Regions from separate parts of the Homo sapiens genome. Here region 2 is linked to region 1. The links are contacts of gene promoters, found by promoter capture Hi-C in human tissues and cell types (Jung and others, 2019). All regions are on one chromosome and are shown on one strand. Each heading gives the region's core, a stretch centred on a gene start or on the middle of the fragment in contact. The rest is flanking DNA. Distances are from core to core; before and after follow the strand shown.

Region 1 (2,749 bases), core at 100-2,599:
ATGAGGACCTACTTGGTGCAGAGAAGACAGGCCCAGTAAGAGGAGGGCTGGCTTGAAACAACTGCAGGTCCTTGAGAGACCAGAGGTGCTCGGGAGGTGGTGAGGAGCAGGTTGGGAGCCTTGTTGCAGGAGATGAGTGAGCCAGGGGAAGGCAGAGCGGCAGTGTCAGTGAGGCACACAGGGGAGGAGCAGACTCTCCCATCCCCTGCCGTGGCCCTTCAGTGGCCTCCTATCGCTGGGGAGAAAATCCACACTCATACCCAAGGATGGCCTGGCCGGCTTCATCTCCTCCTAGTTGCTGGGTGTGCCACCCGCCAACTCCTGCAGTTCCAGGAATGGGCAGGGCTCCCTCCCTACCAGCTCCTCAGGCACATTTTGTGGGCAGGGTTTATGGGAAAATGTCGGGGAGGAGGGCAGGGGGTTACTACAGGCTACTGTATCTGTCCCAAATCAGGGTCAGGTTCTACCTGAAGATAGTAGTGTTAGCTCTGAGTTCATTCCAGACCCGTTTATTTGATTCTAGAAACAGTTCCTATCAAAACCTGCTCTTTTTTTTTTTTTTGAGACTGAGTCTTGCTCTGTCGCCCAGGCTGGGGTGCAGCGGCGCGATCTCGGCTCTCTGCAACCTCCGCTTCCTGGGTTCAAGCGATTCTCCTGCCTCAGCCTCCCGAGTAGCTGGAACTACAGGAGGCACCACCCCGGGCCAATTTTTGTATTTTTTAGTAGAGACCGGGTTTCGCCATGTTGGCCACACTGGTCTCGAACTCCTGACCTCAGGTGATCCACCCGCCTCGGCCTCCCAAAGTGCTGGAAGTACAGGCAAAAACTGCTTTTGAAACGCGTCCTAGCGTTTCTGGACAGCACCGGCCAGGAAGTCAGGAGGCTTGGTGCTGCTCCTGCGCCTGCCCTCGCCCCAAGTCCTGGGCTTCGGGATCCCCATGGCAACCCCAGGTCCCGCTGGCTGTGAGGCTGCGGCCGGAACCCGGTCTTCCCGGCTAGGAGCCCGCGGGGGGCGACCCCCTGCAGGGCTTGGCCTGCTGCGGGAGGAGGGCTCGGGGAAGGGTGCGAGCCGAGCCCGAGGCGCACGGCGAGTCCTGTGGGAGTGGGGGACGCGGGGGCGGCCCTGGCTCCGCCGCGGCACCTGGACCTCTACTTTCCGAGGTGAGCATTTGGGGGTCGAGGGCGTAGAGCGATCGCACCCTGAATGGAGCCCAGGGCAGCCAGCGACCTGTCCCGTGGCCCGCAGTCGTTACCGTTCCGGGGCGGCCGCCTAGGCGGGTCCCGACGCGGCCCGCGGGAGCTCGGGGTGCCCTCGCCCGCCGCTGCCATCTTGCCGCCGAGGGTTCTCTTAGCGACCAGCAACGCCCGCTTCCATTGGTCTTTGTCGCAAGGGGGGGTGTGGCCACGGGCCTAGTCCCTGAGCCCGCGCAATCTCTGGAGCGAAGCTAGCCGGGCCCGGAGCCAGAGGACGCAGCTGCGCCTGTGCGCGTTTCCGCCGCTGTCGTCTCTTCCGCCGGGAGGCCCGCCCGCCAACGGCCTGCGCGTCTGCGCCGGAAGCGGAAATGGTTGGAGCCCTTGGCCCCGCCCTCGCGCCATCTTGGGGGCCCTGGAGGCGGCGCCGCGGAGGACGGAGCGGAAGTGCTCGCTGCAGCTTCCCGGAGCCGGAGCGCAGCGCCTGCGGCCGCCCGTGCCCCGCCGTCCTCCTTCCCGCGGCCGTGAGGGAGACCGCGGCTCGGCCGTAGCGGAGCTGCGAGGTGCCAGGAAGGGCTGCGTGGCGCGGGAACGGCCGGGCAGCGCCGCCTCCGCTTCTTCCGGGCTGTCAAGGCCGCGGGCGGGCGGGGCCGCGCTGAGGGCCGGGCGGGGAGGGCCGTCGGGGCCCGGGTGGCCGCGGGGACCGTGTTCCCGACCCGCGGCCCTGAGGGGTACGGGTCGCGCCTCGGGGTCGGGCCCGGGACGGGGTGCTGGGGGGTGCGGCGGAGCCCTGGGGCCTGCGAGGGTCGGGGGAGCGGGAGAGGGGCCGGGCGGGGGCTGCAGCCCTCGAGCCACCCGGGCCGCATCTCGTCCGCATCCCCTGCTTGGCATCTGGGGGAAGCGGGCAGTCGCGGCCCCCACAGCGCTGCGAGTTGGGCTGTATTCCAGAGTAATGTGCCCTGTCCCCATCCTGCGTCCAGGTCAGCGCTTATCTGTAGGATTTAGTGTTAAGCTCTGGGGTGAAGGCGTTACTGACGGGCTGAAGGGAAACTAGTTACATCGGTTTTGATCGTATTCTAAATAGGCAATAAAATCATAAATTCTCCAGGCTGACTTAGTACTGGTCTGTGGCCCCACTGATAAAGGTATCGTTCGTTTCTCTGCCAGGTGTCTCACAGCACAGAGGGCTGCTTTCAGCCTAAGTACCTTCAGTGGGCTTTTGCCCTTTTCCCTTTATGAAGAGTAGAGACTGGCCGCTAGTCCTGGAAGCACTTTATTTTTAGTTGAGTTGACATTTCCCAGGAAGATGCAGTTATCCCCGTAAGTGGATAAAGGGTTCTCAGTAATTCAGACTCTCACATGGCTTCTGCCGTATGCCTGAGGTGACGGCGACGGCGGTAACAGTGTGTCAGAGCCAGGTGGAGATATAAGATGGTCAGGCCCAGAGGAGCGGGGAGCCCAGGCTGGAATGTGGCCTTGGGAAGGAGGAAGAGACGGGGTCTGGGAGGGCATTTCAGAGGACTGAACAACACCAGAGGCGTGAAGCTTGGTGCACGGC
Region 2 (2,718 bases), core at 218-2,717, 1.3 Mb after region 1:
TTCAAGAAGATGATTCCAGTAACAGATCATTACCAAGTGTTTCAGGGTATTTTGACCAGAGTGTACAAGCTGGAAAAAAACACCCAAGTTAAGCAAGCAGATGTAATCTTTCTCCTTATAATTCACTGAAATTTTCATAAATGGTAAAAACAAAAAACAAACCTCTCATTTAATTGAGGAGGGGGGCACATTGAAAATATACCAAGGCTGAGATGCCATTTAAACTAATGAGGTTTTCTGTTTTGTAGCTGATGCTATTTTATGTGATTTGGAATAAAACCTCCCTGAAGAGGTAAAAAACGTAATTTGAGAGTTAAACTCTCAAAAGCTAGACAGAGCACAGGAATGTCAGGAGTGGCAAAACCTGAAAAAGCATCATGATACATCAGTCAGTTAGTACAGGTGGTGGATAAGGAAAACGAAGCCCACTTTTTACGAGGCATGTTTCTTCTTAGTGGCTTTCCAATGCCAATTGTCCCCCTCTTCTGAGGACATACATACTAGGCATCCGGGTTATCCCTCTCTTCTGAGGATATACACTACTAGGCATCCAGGTACATACACTATATGTTTTGAAGCTTAAAGTTATAGCTCTGTGATTTAAGCACCCTTCTGCCACCCATGGAACGAAGACCTCAAATCCCAGCCATGAGGACAACTACTTCCTTACCTGGGGATAGAATACTAGTATTTAAATCATTTATTCGGCATGTGGTAGAGGAGAAGAGAATTAGAGGAGAAGTAGAGATGACAAAGTAGCCACACCACTTACCAGTTTACAGGCAACAGAATCATCAATTTGCCTTTTGTGACAAAGTAACAACAAAGAGCCGACATCTCCTATACCCTCACCTGTGTGCAGTCGGCACTGCCGATACCCACCTTTCCAAGGGCACCTCCCCAGACCCCCCACCTGTCTACGGTATCTTCCTGGGTCCCGCACCTGCCCGGGCACCTGCCGGGGTCCTGCACCTGTCCGGCCCCCATATCTGCTTGGGGTACCTGCCTGGGCCCCGCACCTGCTTGGGGTACCTGCCTGGGCCCCGCACCTGCTTGGGGCACCTCCCCGGGCCCTCCACCTGTCTAGGGTATCTTCCTGGGTCCCGCACCTGTCTGGGGCACTTGCTCAGACACTGCACCTGCCCCGGGTACCTGCCCGGGCCCCGCACCTGTCCGGGCACCGCACCTGCAGGATCCCCAAGCTGCCTCCACCCACGCGGCCGCCCCCGGCCCTGCCCGCCGGGGACGCTGGCACCGAGGATGTCCTGCCCGTGGCCCAGGTCCCCGCCGCTCACCAGGTACTTGCCGTCCGGGGAGAACTTGCAGAGTAAGCTGGAGAGCTTGAATACCTCGGAGAAGTTCATGGCCGCCGCCTGCCGCGGGCGCCACCCTGCGCCCGAAAACCCGCGGGACCCCTGGGCGCGCAGCAGGCTGCAACAGCCGACGCCGGCCTCCGAGGCCGGAAGTCAGAAGGCGGAAGTGAACTGCAGCCTATCAGCGCCGCCGGCTTCCGCGCGGCATTGTGGGGCTTGTAGTTCTTGTGCCGCAGGGCTTTAAAGGAAACGCCCACGTTTCTTCCGACCAGGGATTTCCGACCCGAGAACCTTACCTCAAAGGCCGGGAGGCCTTTGAGCACCTCCAGCTAGGGCTGCTGATAAAAATGTAGAAAGCACAGTAAAATTTGAATTTCAGATTCACAACAAATCTAGTTATAAGTATGTTCCCAAATATTGCACGGGACATGCTAATACGGAAAAATTACTCGCTAGTCTGAAATTCAAATTTAATTGAGCGACCTGTGTGTCTGCGTGTGTGTACACATGCATATATATATATTTATATTTATATGTAAATGTATGTTTACATGTAAATATATGTTTACCTACAAATATATCTTTAATAAGTAATACGGTGTCTGTCGCACATATATTATATCGTGTATGTAATGTATAAGTATTTATTTCGTTTGCTTGGGGTTTTGTTTGCTTTTGCTGAGTCCGACCCCTCTACCTGCCGCCTGGCCCTTGCCTCACGCTCCAGTGCCACTGAGATCAAGGAGAGAACGAATTTGCCGCTGACTGGGCAGAGCGAGCGCGTGGATCGCGGCCACCGCCCGTTCATCACCCGCGCGCATCTGGGCTGGCACCGGGCGAAGAATCGTGCGGGTCTGGGACCTGGGGGCCCAGAGGGAGCGAGCTCCTGCGCGGGCGCTCGGTCCGCAGGTTTCGCAGGCTCAGGGGCGTGCCTCGTTCTCACCCCCACTCCGGACCCCGGTCCTCTTCCCTAGACAGCGGCCCCCTCCACCCCTGGCTCCCGCAGGCCGCTAGTAGTCCGCGCCAGGCCCCGCCGGCGCCTCTAGGGCCCCCCAGATCGCGCAGACCCTGACATCCCCGCCTGGCCCTGGGTTCTGGGAGCTGAGAGCCGGCCAGGGTCCTGCTCGTACCTCCGGGCGCCCAGCCTCGGGTCTGCTCCCCGCGGACGCCCCAACCTCCCCGGCCGAATGGATGGTGGTGCGCGCGCGTCCTACTCCGGCGGTGCCGGCCTTTTCTGTTGCCAAAACTAGACCCAAACCTCTGCATGGGATTCGTCTTTGGGTCCCCACCCCGTGCGCCCAGCAAACAGTGGGTGAGCCATGAAGATGTGCGAGTCAGCCGGACCCTCCCCGTCAGGCGCGGACCCGCTGCGGCCAGAGAACCCAGTCTGCGCCAGCCCGGCTCG

The links. The method cuts DNA at HindIII sites, captures the fragments that hold promoters and counts their contacts. A contact is called where the count stands out against the background at its distance.
Region 2: a contact is called between the fragment with the promoter of WRAP73 here and the fragment with the promoter of MORN1 in region 1, in 1 of the 25 tissues and cell types used here (lymphoblastoid cells).

What each region holds. Positions count from the first base shown.
Region 1 is chr1:2,390,205-2,392,953 of GRCh38, forward strand. MORN1 (MORN repeat containing 1) reads right to left here and starts at 1,350. Exons shown (of 14, transcript NM_024848.3): 1 at 1,254-1,350. The coding sequence starts at 1,329. RER1 (retention in endoplasmic reticulum sorting receptor 1) reads left to right here and starts at 1,637. Exons shown (of 7, transcript NM_007033.5): 1 at 1,637-1,754. RefSeq lists silencers at 923-1,052, 1,213-1,282, 1,413-1,522, 1,623-1,922 and enhancers at 1,346-1,640, 1,509-2,381. The HindIII fragment of the contact is 12,081 bases long and covers 1-2,749 here.
Region 2 is chr1:3,648,636-3,651,353 of GRCh38, forward strand. WRAP73 (WD repeat containing, antisense to TP73) reads right to left here and starts at 1,468. Exons shown (of 12, transcript NM_017818.4): 1 at 1,296-1,468. The coding sequence starts at 1,364. RefSeq lists an enhancer at 1,689-2,532. The HindIII fragment of the contact is 14,524 bases long and covers 1-2,718 here.